3 separate regions of the Homo sapiens genome follow, and regions 1 and 3 are each linked to region 2. Evidence: promoter capture Hi-C in human tissues and cell types (Jung and others, 2019). All regions are on one chromosome and are shown on one strand. Each heading gives the region's core, a stretch centred on a gene start or on the middle of the fragment in contact. The rest is flanking DNA. Distances are from core to core; before and after follow the strand shown. Region 1 overlaps PCID2 (PCI domain containing 2). Region 2 holds the start of F10 (coagulation factor X). Region 3 overlaps MCF2L (MCF.2 cell line derived transforming sequence like).

Region 1 (4,333 bases), core at 1,343-3,842, 57 kb before region 2:
TGGGTCATGGCTTTGTGGTTTGGAAGAGACGCTGGCCCCACAGCATTCACGCTCACTGTGCAAGACTGGATGTTTTTTGTGCCAATGTGGCCACATAGTTTAGGAGCAGAGGCAGTGTGTGGTCTCAGTGTGGGTTCCCTAGGCCTCGACCCAGACCCCAGGGCCTGCTGCTTCTGGTGACCCATTCTGCATAAGGGAGGGCCTCTGCAGCTCTGAGCATCTCTGTTCTCTTATATTTGGGACTTAATATCACTGTTCAGGAAGAACTTACATAAACAGGAACATCTCACTTTCCTAATTCTTGACCCAAACTCAGCCTTAGTGAAGCCTCTTCTCTTCACCTAGGGAGAATGTGGAATCATTGTCCAGAAACCCCTGACCCTTCAGCTTTCCAGCCTCAGGACAAGGCTCAGCTCCTGCCTGCCTGTTCTGAGAGTTCCTTGTTAGCATGTGCTGAACTCTTTGCAGGCCTGTCGTGCAGTTTGTGGGATTAATCTTGACAAATAGAATTACTTTTGTATTTTGAAATCTATTAAATTCAAATCTGTTTTTTAATATTGCTCTCAGGACAGAATTAATATGTTGTGTGTTAGTAATAATAAGTTAATTTTTTAAAGCATGTGGTCATTTAAAATGGAAGATATATGATCACTAATTATATGTTAAGCTGGAGGATGGTGTTTTACTAAGTTATTTTCATTGTTTAATTATGGGTGATTAAAATGTATTGTGGAGGTACATTTTTAAATATGTCTTTATATTTTTCATGAATGTAGAAATCATCTGAGCAGGGTCAGACTTTTAAAATGTTATCATAATGGTTTGCCAGCTGACCTTAGGCAAATCAGAATCTCTGTGAAAGTTATTTTCTTCAGTTTTCCTCTGTTAAGTAGGACTTCCCAGGCAGTTCCTGTTGAATTTGGGGGTATGGATTTTACTTAAGGAAAGTCATTGATCACAGAAATGAAACTGGGATGATATTTTTTGAGATAATAAAGGGAGGGGGCTTTTGCCTTTTAAATCAGGAGACAGTGGTAGAAAATGGAGCAGGAAGGGGCCTGAAGCAGGTGCGTTGGTCTCATGCGTGCTGGCTCTGCCTTCTTTGCAGCTGAGGAGTACCTGTCATTTGCCTTTGAGCATTGTCACCGTTCTAGTCAGAAGAACAAAAGGATGATTCTGATCTATTTGCTTCCAGTAAAAATGCTATTGGTGAGTGATTATTACTCCATGTTTATAGATCCTGGTGCTTTCACAAAGTTGACAGCTGATAGGTTTTTTTAAAACCTAGCAGACAGTCTGTAGTTGATCACAGCCTGAGCTGTGTATGAGCACACCCCAAAATAAAGAAGGCGCATGCATTGTGTGTGGCCCAAACCCAGAGCTTCATGCCTTACGCCTCCAGGTCCTTCTAGAAAAGCTCTCCCTGTGTCTTGTTTCCCTTAAAAGTATTTAACTCAAGAGTTTAACGTTCATGTGACAAAATAAGTACGTATCATTTGTATTCCTCCCTTAAAACCTAAGTTAAAAGCAGTGGATTCACCAAGAAAGAAAAATGTCATTTCACCCTCTCTGTGGGTATTTCATTTAGTTACTAAAATGTATTTTTGATACTTGAAATAACTGGTAAGTTAATTGACTAATGAGAAAAGCATTGCACACAGGTGGCTAAAGCTTCTGTAGCTCTGAATGGATTGTGATGGAGAAGCGCTGCTGTGGCCTTGCCCTCCTCACTTCTCACCCCATTTAACTGACAGCCAGTTTCAAATGCTTAGCTGATTCTTCTGGAAGCTACTTCCGTATGCCTACATCTCATGCTTATACTAGCATTTCTTCAGTTATCACTCTCCTGTTATAGAAATTCGAAGAAATGTGAGAAGGTCAAGATCAAGGTCACGTGTCATGGAATGACAAAAGTGTGTTGTACCCAGGTGTTCTGATTTCTAGACCTGTGTTGTTTTCCTAGTGTACTATGATGTGTTTAATCCATGGACATTCTAAGAAACTCAGGTTGCAATTTTCTTAAAACTTAATTCCTTGATATGAATATTTATCAAGGACAATTTTGTCAAAAATGAAAGCATTTTCATTCTGGAAAATTGACTCTTAGGGTCACATGCCCACTGTGGAGCTCCTGAAAAAGTATCACCTGATGCAGTTTGCGGAAGTAACCAGAGCTGTGAGGTAGAGTATGCCATCCTTCCTGTTTGGGGTTTTAAAAATGCAAGCCTGATGAGAGTTGACGTGCACGCTCTGTGAGAAACTCACCCTCCTTCTGACGCGCCTCCCCCCTCACCAGCGAGGGCAACCTGCTGCTGCTGCACGAGGCGCTGGCGAAGCACGAGGCCTTCTTCATTCGCTGCGGAATCTTCCTCATCCTGGAGAAGCTGAAGATCATCACCTACAGGAACCTCTTTAAGAAAGTGTAAGCATTTCCCCGGCACATTGGGCTCCCAGTGTGGCTCTCGGCAGAGCAGTCAGACATCCAGGGCTGTTGCAGTCTAAGAGAGAAGGCCACCGTGTGGGTGGGGTCGTTATCTTCCTTCCATTGTGTGGGATAAAATGAAGCCTCCGCCCACTGCCTCCTGGGGACCCTGCGCGAGACACGTGAGTAGCACAAGCTGTGCCTGGACTTGTGGGGGAGGTAAGCAGGTTCTATGTGAGAAGACAACTTGAGAACATCAGCCCTGAGAGCCGCGGTACCACATTTCATCAGAGCACACAGGACTCGCCACTCACTCCCCTCCCTTAGTGCTGACCAAGTAGCCCTCCCAGCCACTTCTGCCTGTCACAAAGGCAGATGCAGAGATCGTCATTCCTTTCCTCACACGTCTTCTGAGGCCTCGTCCCAGCAGGATCTCAGTTGTGTAAACTTCAGGCAAAGGCCAACTTTGTATAGAGCTGTGGGTAGCACGTCACAAACAGTAGGGACCCTATTTCGCTGAGTCTGTGAGACACAGCCCATTGTCAGGTGCTTCCTGATTTCAGGGAGATTAAAATGTGAAAAAAAAAACCGAACCTTAATGAAATACTTAGAAAATAATTAAAAATTGTGTTTGTACTAGTGACTTTTTAAAGATTGAAAAGTCAAATTAGATTTAATAGCTCTGAGAGTGTAGTTTAGAGTTTATCTAATAGGTGGGAATTTTTTTACTCCTTTAGAACACCGGCTTATTAAGAGGTGCCTTTTCTTGGCTGTGGAGTATTGCATCCTGTCGGTAACCACAGTGCCCTTCTCCTCCCCTCTTCCAGGTATTTGTTACTGAAAACACACCAGCTGTCTCTGGATGCTTTTCTGGTTGCCTTGAAGTTCATGCAGGTGGAGGACGTGGACATTGACGAAGTTCAGTGTATTCTGGCTAACTTGATATACATGGTGTGTGAGTCCTGGTTTTAATTTAAGCAGCTACTCACAGCAAGATTCAGCCCAGAATTTGAAGCTTCAGTGTGGTGGTGTTAAAATTGTTAAAAGGCCTTCTGCTTTTTTTTTGATAGAACTAATTTTAGCCCAGGAAATACCATTCACCAGGGCCTTAGGAGCATGAGGGGACGGATACTCTTGTATGTTTGCATATTCTTTACTGGCGGTACATCCCTCGGTATCTGTCGATTCTCCAACCCCCCTCGGATACCAAAATCCACAGGTGCTTCAGTCACTGATAGGACGTAGTATTTGCATATGAGCTATGCACGTCCTCCTGTATACTTTAAATTATCTCTAGGTTACTTAAAATACTCAGTGCACTGTAGATAGCTGTTGTACTGTATTGTTTAGGGAATCACGGCAAGGGAAGAGCGTCTGTACGTGTTCATTACAGATGCATTTTTTTTCCCCAAATATTTTCAGTCCACAGTTGGTTAGATTCATGGATATGAAACCCACCGTGGATATAGAGGGTTGATTGTATTTATTTTTACTCATTGTCTTCCCGCTGAACTGAACTGTGCCGCTCTTGGGGAAGAATGCTAATGCCAAATTAATTAGATCACCCAGCATCTTTGACATGACTCAGATCCAAAAATGTAAACGCATTCCTCCCTTTCTGCCCCGCAGGGACACGTCAAAGGCTACATATCGCATCAGCATCAGAAGCTGGTGGTCAGCAAGCAGAACCCATTTCCTCCCCTGTCCACGGTGTGTTGAAAGTACACGGAGCCCCGAGGACGGGTGAGCAGTTGTTTCTTTCCACTTTGGTTGTGCTGATGAGACCGGTCCGGTACTGCAACAAGGCTCCCTGAAGCCGGAACTCTTGGAGGCGCTTTTCCCAGGGATGCTGAGGCTGAGATTTTCAGCACACCCGAGTTAATCTCCTTCATTTGTAACTAATTTCAGCCT
Region 2 (4,122 bases), core at 965-3,464:
TCTGAGAGAAAAGAAGACAGAAAAACAGCCATGGTGAGAACCCCATGCGATGATGGAGGCAGCGATGGGAGCAATGCTCCCACAAGCCATGGGCTGTGAGGCCGCTGGCACCCCGAGGCCAGGAAACAGGCCTAGAGCAGACTCTCTCCCAGCCTCTGGAGGAACCAGCCCCGCTGACGCCTTGATTTTGAACTTCCAGCCTCCAGAGCTGTGGGAGAAATGTTTCTGTTGCTTTAAGCTACTTGGTCCATTGTCCTTTCTTGTAGCAGTACCAGCAAAGGAATGCTGAGGTCCCACCGCCCCAGAAGAACTTCCGTGACTGCCAGGACAGCTGTGCTCGTTTAAAGGCTAGACTGCAGATGCTGTGCGCATTCTGATTTTATTAAAATCAAAAGTGTGCACAGCAGGGTCCTGAGTGGGACCTTCTGGGACCTGTGTTCAGCCCCACCCACCCCACAGTGCAGCTGCCGAGGCCTCTGAGGCAGAGTAGGGGAGAGAGATGGCCTGGCCCTGGCTCTCCGGGGCTGGCCATGTCCACCCAGGGTCCAGGCCGGCCCCCGGGGACACCACAGGCCATGGTTATGAGCCAGGCCCGCATCACACAGCTAAGGGTGCCAATACCCTGTGGACCCAGAGGTCCGCGAGGTGGGCGCCTGCATTTCCCATTGGCAGGAAGGGAAGCTGGCGCTCCACCAGGACTCTGCATAACTCCCCTAGTTTCCTCCTGTGGGTCTGGGTGGGCTCCTGGCCTGTCTTCTCATCCCCACCCTCTGCTTCTTCCCAGGAAGAGGAGTCCTGCCAACTTCCATTCCCAATAAGCCAGAGCAGCTTCCAGAGTCCCGGGCCGGGCTTAGGGCCTCGGGAGCCCCGGGCCGGGCTTAGGGCCTCAGGATCCTAGAGCATTCCGGCTGCAGAATTTTCTACCAATTCGCGGAAGCATCTGTCTGTTTGCAGAGTAGCTTTGCTGTCGATGATGATGGCATGGGTCCTTCCAGGGCCTTGTTCCACCCACGCTGATCTCATCCCACCACAAGCATCACAGTGGGCTCCTGCAGGGGGCAGTGTGGCCTGAGGGGGAGGAAGAAGGCTGGGCGAGTTGGAGCCACACAGTACCCCATGAAGACGGGAGTCCCGTTCCGCGTGGGAGACAGGAAGATGTGGCTCAGGGGACAGAGGCTGGGGAGGGCAGGGGGTTGAGGGTGGGATGGAGAAGACCCCCGTGTGATGTGACTGGAGCTCCAAGTCACCAGGCGGAGGGGCCGTTTAGGTCAGTGATGCACTGAGGATCCACTCAGCCTTCCCAGGGGTCTCCCCTTTCCACCCCACGAGGGTCTCCCCCTGCTCCGTCTCTCCCTCACACATTCCCTTCCCAGGCCTGGGTCCCCTTGGTGCCCCTGCCTGTCCACTTTGTCCAGGATGCAAACAAGTCTAGGGTCCCTGTCTCTCGTGTCCCCACCAGAGGGGCCTCCTCTTCCTCCGCTGTCCCCAGGCTTGCCTGGCTTCTGTCCTGTCTGGGCCTCTGCTTTTGGACAGACCCGGGGGTCCTGGACAGCCCTGCTGCCCCCACCTGTCCAGCTGTGCATTAGGCAGCTCCTTCCCCGACGGAGCCAGTCCGAGAGTGGTGGCACTGGCTCGGCTCAGCCTCCTCCTCCCTGGGAGCTCCTCTGCTGTGCCCCTCGTCCTGTGCCTCCCTGTGGTGGCAGATGGCTAACTGTCCTGTCTCTGCCTGCCCCAACCCCTCCCTCTCTCTCTGTCTCCGTCTTTCTACCTCTGTCTCTGCCTCTTGGCCTCCCATCTCACTGTGTCTCCGTTTCTCCTTCCCTCTCCCTTTCTCTCTCTGACTCTGTCCTTGTGTTTTTGTCTCTGTGACCTCTGATCCGCCCGTCTGACTCTCAGCCCCAGGGAGCCACAGCTGGCCTTGAGGATGCCGTTGGCTGGAAAGGCCAAGCCCAGCCATCCGAGCCCAGCCTCTGGCAGCACTCAAGGCACCCACCGTCCAGGCTGCAGAGATGAGAGGGTTTCCCCAACTGCCGCCCCTCCCTGCTCCCTGGCGCTGCTTTTGGGTCTGAAGGGCGAGGGGCACTTACGACTTTCCCCGAGCAGCAGGAGGCCAGCCAGGGAGGCACTGAGCAGGACGAGGTGCAGTGGGCGCCCCATGGTGTGGCCGAGTACTGTGTCCCTGTCCTCACTGGGACAGGCTGCTGGAGCAAAGTCCACGCCCCAGCTGGGATGGCTGTTGTCTGGCTGCTTATCACTTGGCTTAGGCCTCCTGATTGGAGCCGAGACCTGCTGGCGAGGCAGGGGAGTGACCACGCTGGGAACACATCCACTCTGGCCCCACCTTCCCCAGGCAGAGCTGGGCGGCCAGAGAGGCCCCGCAGAACCTCATCCTCATCAGTCACCAGGGCCGCGGGTGTGGGGACTTTCTGTTCTAAGAATAAAAACATCATTTCGTGCTCATTTTGTAGTTTCCAGATGTTTACATTTAACTCTCAGTCCTCACATACAAATATCATTTTCCCCATCATTTTTCCAGAAGAGAAAACTAAGTTTAGAGAGCGCAGAAGCCTGAGCCGAGGCCGCTGGCAGTGAGCGTGGGATCTGAGCCCAGGACTTCTGCCCCAAGGCCCTGCTTGTTTCTGGGCGGGCCCTTCCGCTCACAGCCACTCTCTGGGTGGTATCAGGTGGTCTCATGTCACGGGGGGGGCTTGGCATCTGCACCATGGCCTCCCACAGGCCAGGCTGGCACCTGCCCCACCCACCCCCAAACCTTCTGTGCCCGCATGGCCCCAAAACGTACTTCTGTGGGGAGTGACCTTCCCGTGACCATCTGGAGGGACAGGCTGTGTCTGAAGCCCCTCCTGACCTGCCCACCACTGGCCACACTGTTCCGAGGCTGAGAGGGCTTCTGGGCTCGTTCTCCAGTGCAGAAACCTCCCATCACAAGGTCCTGAGTGTCTCTGCTCAATGGCTGTGGGAGTCACTGGGAGGTGCAGCCGGGCTTTTTGCCTCTGGGGTCTCTGGAATAAATGGTCTAAAGCTTGGCCAGTGTGGCGATCACTGCCTGCTATGCCGTAGTGGCCGGGGAGCAATGCCCCTAACACCCACAGCACTGGCCACTGCCTCATGGTGCATCTGCCTTGATGGGTCGCCCTGTCTCGCAGCCACCTGCACATGAGCCTGGTGTGCACACATTGTGCGTCATTGTGCCTGGCACACAGGAGGCACTCACTGAGCCCCACCCGACTGCACAAACTGATGATGCTGGATGCCAACGCCAGGCTGGCCTCCCACGGCGGGCACCACGCACAGCCTGGTCCTCTGAGAAGGGCCTTCCTGGTGGCACCAGATGTCTGACTCCTGCCTCTCCTGGTCTCCACCCTCTGACATCGCCTCTAGGCATGTTTGTATGGAGAGACCAATGCGGTGTGTGCACCAACAGCAGGATGCTCATGGCAGACACGCAGTCTTTGTCATCAATGCTGGGTGGCGATGCTGGCTTTGGTGGCCCAAGCCTGCCGCCTCATCCCACCCTGTCCCAGGCCCATGGCCAGTGGCCTCCCCGTATTCTATCTCGCCACTCACAGAAAGCTGGAGCTGAGCCGTGGCAGGTGGCACGTCCCATATGAAACATGTAGCCTTTGGGGGCGCCCAGGCCCTTCAGCGAAGCCTCTGGGGAGTCCCGGGCCCCCTCCTCCGGCAGCACCATGAGGTGGGCGCCTGCATTTCCCATTGGCAGGAAGGGAGGCTGGCGCTCCACCAGGACCCCGCATGACTCCCCTAGTTTCCTCCTGTGGGTCTGGGTGGGCTCCTGAACTGTCCTCTCATCCCCACCCTCCGCTTCTTCCCAGGAAGAGTCCTGCCAACTTCCACTCCCAAGAAGTCAGAGTGGCTTCCAGAACCCTGGGCTGGGCTTAGGCCCTCAGGAGCCCCGGGCATTCTGGTTGCAGAATTTTCTACCAATTCACTGAAGCATCTGTCTGCAGAGTGGCTTTGCTGTCGATGACCATGGCATGGGCCCTTCCAGGGCCTTGTTCCATCCATGCTGATCTCATCCCACCATAAGCATCACGGTGGGCTCCTGTTTTACACATGAGGAAACTGAGGCATGGTCACTCGGAC
Region 3 (3,869 bases), core at 107-2,606, 52 kb after region 2:
CAGCAATGAATACATAAATGCCAAAATTAAAAATATAATACTGTGATGACTTCTTAAAGTGGAATATTAAAGGTAAGTCAAACAAAATACGTACTGAACTTGTGTGCTGAGAACTACTCGACACTGATGAAAGAAATCAAATGTTGGGAATACCATGTTTGTTGACTAGAAGAGTCAACACAGTAAAGACATTTCTTCTCCTTAAAATATAGGTTTAACACAACTCCTATGAAAACCCCAGGAAATTTGTTTTCATATATGTAGACAAGATAATTTTAAAATTGCCATGAAAAGGCAAAAGAACTAGAAGCTAACACAATTTTGAAAAAGAAAACAAAGAGGGAAGAATGAGTGTACTTGATTTCAAGACATTATATAGTTGCAGCAATTAAGACCTTGTGGTACAGACAGAGGAAGAGGTATGTAGATAAACATAATTGAATAGAGAGTCTCCAGAACAGACCCACACAAATGTGCCCAGAGCTTTGACAACGGTGGAGAAGAAATCCAGTGGAAGAAAGGGCCTTTTCAACAAACAGTGCTACAGCAATTGGACATCCAGAGGTAAAACAAATCATGATCTAATTCTCATACCTTATACAAAAATTAGCTCAAATTAGGTCATAGACTTCAATGTAAAACTATGAAATTTGAGGGGAAAAAGGCTTAGGGGAATATACTTGGAATCTAGGACCAAAAGTATAAACCTTAAAAGGAGAAATTGACAAATTGGAGTTCGTCAAAATTAAATGCTTTGGCTACGTGAAAAACCCTGTTAAAGAGGATGAAAAGACAAGTTACAGACCAGGAGAAAATATTCGCAAACCACATATGTGGCAAAGAACTAGTATCTGCAGTATATAAGGAATTCTCAAAATGTAACAAAACCGTAAAACAAAAGCACAAAACCAAACAATCCAGTTAGAAAATGGGCAACAGAAATAAGACATTTTACCAAAGAGGATATGCGAATGGCAAATAAGCACGTGGAAAGGTGTTTAGCACCATCAACACTGGGGAAACGCAACAGAAAACCACCGTGAGATGGCACACACATCAGGATGTGAGCATAATATGAAGAATCACTACCCCACCACGTGCTGGGGAAAGGGGAAGCAACTAGTCTCTCATACACTGAGAACCGTTTGGCATTTTCTTAAACGAAACATGCAACTACTATATAACCCTGCAATTACATTCTGGGCACTTAAGCCCAAGAAATGAAAACTTACATTTACACCAACATCAGTATATCAATGTTTGTAACAGCTTTATCTGTAATACTCAAATCCGGAAACAACCCAGATACCCTTCAACAGGTGAATGATTGAAAGAACTGTGGTCCGTCCACACCGGGGAACACAATGAGTGAGCCACCGGCACCTGGGGGTCTGCAGAGAGCTGTGCTGAGCAAACAAACAAATCCCGAGAGTGACATTCTGTGGGATTCATTAATGTCACATTCTTGAAATGGCAAAAGCACAGCCACGGAAACAGATGAGTGGTTGCCGGGGGCTGAGGAGGGACATGGGTGAGTCCACGAAGGGCCGCAGGAGGGAGACGTCTGGGTCTGGCTGCACTGGCCGTGTCGCTGTGCACCTCATGACTGTGACGCCGTCCTACAGTCTGGCACACAGCAGGCACATCCTACATGCATGTTGAATAAAAGGGCATGCAAATGACTATGAAGGGAGAGCAAAGGCTTCCTGCTACTTTACGAATAATGCAGTGTAAGTGCATCCCAGTGAGCTGATTTTCAATCACCTTTCTATACAATGACGCAGTCATCAATCGTGCATTTCAAGGCTCAGCCTGACTTAATCTCACAGGCTCCACCTGGCAAGCGGAGACTTTTCTGCATTAAGCCAAAGTCAACTGGGTGGCACGGCTCAGCTCCCGGCACTGGGACCAGGGCGCAGGCACAGGAGGCCCCGTGAGCATCAGGGCGGCTGCCGGCTCCACCCAGGGCCACTCACCTCCCGGAAGCCCTGCTCAAAGTGCCGGAGCTGCAGACACTGCTCCAGTTTCTGCTGATGCTTTGCCCAGAACTCATCGAAGGCAGCCTCGGTTTCGTTCAGCTGGGCCAGGAGCCTGGGAAAGAGGAGGAGTTGACCGTCTGTGTGGCCCACGGCGCCCCATGCAACGTGGAGCGCGGTGGGTGTTCAAGCGACCCCAAGGCTCATCTCCACCCCGGGCCTTCCTGAGATCCTGGCCTCCGCTCACTCCCTGCACCTAAACCTGGGATCTGCGGGCGCGGGCACTCAGGGCCGTCAGCATGGGAGGGAGGCCCTGGAGAAAGCATCAGGGGCTGTGTCCTTTCCTTCCTGCTTCTCTCCCTCTAGGTCACTGCGACTAGGCTGAGCCGCCGAGTTTGTTCATTTTTATTTTTTAAAAGTTTAAAAACTTTTTTTAAAATTTATTTTTTGAGATAGGGTCTGGTTCCATCACCTGGGCTGGGTGCAGTGGTGCAGTCTCGGCTCACTGCAACCTCTGCCTCCGCGTAGCTGGGACTCCAGCTGTGCACCACCCAGGTGCAATCTCGGCTCACTGCGACCTCTGCCTCCACGTAGCTGGGACTCCAGCTGTGCACCACCCAGGTGCAATCTCGGCTCACTGCGACCTCTGCCTCCGCGTAGCTGGGACTCCAGCTGTGCACCACCCAGGTGCAATCTCGGCTCACTGCGACCTCTGCCTCCGAGTAGCTGGGACTCCAGCTGTGCACCACCCAGGTGCAATCTCGGCTCACTGCGACCTCTGCCTCCGCGTAGCTGGCACTCCAGCTGTGCACCACCCAGGTGCAATCTCGGCTCACTGCGACCTCTGCCTCTGCGTAGCTGGGACTCCAGCTGTGCACCACCCAGGTGCAATCTCGGCTCACTGCGACCTCTGCCTCCGAGTAGCTGGCACTCCAGCTGTGCACCACCCAGGTGCAATCTCGGCTCACTGCGACCTCTGCCTCCGCGTAGCTGGGACTCCAGCTGTGCACCACCCAGGTGCAATCTCGGCTCACTGCGACCTCTGCCTCCGCGTAGCTGGCACTCCAGCTGTGCACCACCCAGGTGCAATCTCGGCTCACTGCGACCTCTGCCTCCGAGTAGCTGGCACTCCAGCTGTGCACCACCCAGGTGCAATCTCGGCTCACTGCGACCTCTGCCTCCGCGTAGCTGGGACTCCAGCTGTGCACCACCCAGGTGCAATCTCGGCTCACTGCGACCTCTGCCTCCGCGTAGCTGGGACTCCAGCTGTGCACCACCCAGGTGCAATCTCGGCTCACTGCGACCTCTGCCTCCGAGTAGCTGGCACTCCAGCTGTGCACCACCCAGGTGCAATCTCGGCTCACTGCGACCTCTGCCTCCGAGTAGCTGGCACTCCAGCGTTGCACCACCCAGGTGCAATCTCGGCTCACTGCGACCTCTGCCTCCGCGTAGCTGGGACTCCAGCTGTGCACCACCCAGGTGCAATCTCGGCTCACTGCGACCTCTGCCTCCAAGTAGCTGGCACTCCAGCTGTGCACCACCCAGGTGCAATCTCGGCTCACTGCGACCTCTGCCTCCGCGTAGCTGGGACTCCAGCTGTGCACCACCCAGGTGCAATCTCGGCTCACTGCGACCTCTGCCTCCGAGTAGCTGGGACTCCAGCTGTGCACCACCCAGGTGCAATCTCGGCTCACTGCGACCTCTGCCTCCGAGTAGCTGGCACTCCAGCTGTGCACCACCCAGGTGCAATCTCGGCTCACTGCGACCTCTGCCTCCGAGTAGCTGGCACTCCAGCTGTGCACCACCCAGGTGCAATCTCGGCTCACTGCGACCTCTGCCTCCGAGTAGCTGGCACTCCAGCGTTGCACCACCCAGGTGCAATCTCGGCTCACT

The links. Contacts are between HindIII fragments. The study calls those that stand out against the background at their distance.
Region 1: a contact is called between a fragment that was not itself captured here and the fragment with the promoter of F10 in region 2, in 2 of the 25 tissues and cell types used here (dorsolateral prefrontal cortex and psoas muscle).
Region 3: a fragment that was not itself captured here is called in contact with the fragment with the promoter of F10 in region 2 in 1 of the 25 tissues and cell types used here (spleen).

The regions. Positions count from the first base shown.
Region 1 is chr13:113,178,006-113,182,338 of GRCh38, reverse strand. PCID2 (PCI domain containing 2) reads left to right here. Exons shown (of 14, transcript NM_001127202.4): 10 at 1,109-1,209; 11 at 2,108-2,181; 12 at 2,297-2,422; 13 at 3,250-3,373; 14 at 4,052-4,333. The coding sequence ends at 4,141. Among named protein-coding and RNA genes, the nearest start is that of PROZ, 22 kb to the right of the region's middle. The HindIII fragment of the contact is 4,578 bases long and covers 304-4,333 here.
Region 2 is chr13:113,120,891-113,125,012 of GRCh38, reverse strand. F10 (coagulation factor X) reads right to left here and starts at 2,214. Exons shown (of 8, transcript NM_000504.4): 1 at 2,088-2,214. The coding sequence starts at 2,157. The HindIII fragment of the contact is 14,274 bases long and covers 1-4,122 here.
Region 3 is chr13:113,068,281-113,072,149 of GRCh38, reverse strand. It overlaps MCF2L (MCF.2 cell line derived transforming sequence like), which reads right to left. Exons shown (of 30, transcript NM_001112732.3): 9 at 1,977-2,091. Among named protein-coding and RNA genes, the nearest start is that of F7, 36 kb to the left of the region's middle. The HindIII fragment of the contact is 7,663 bases long and covers 1-3,869 here.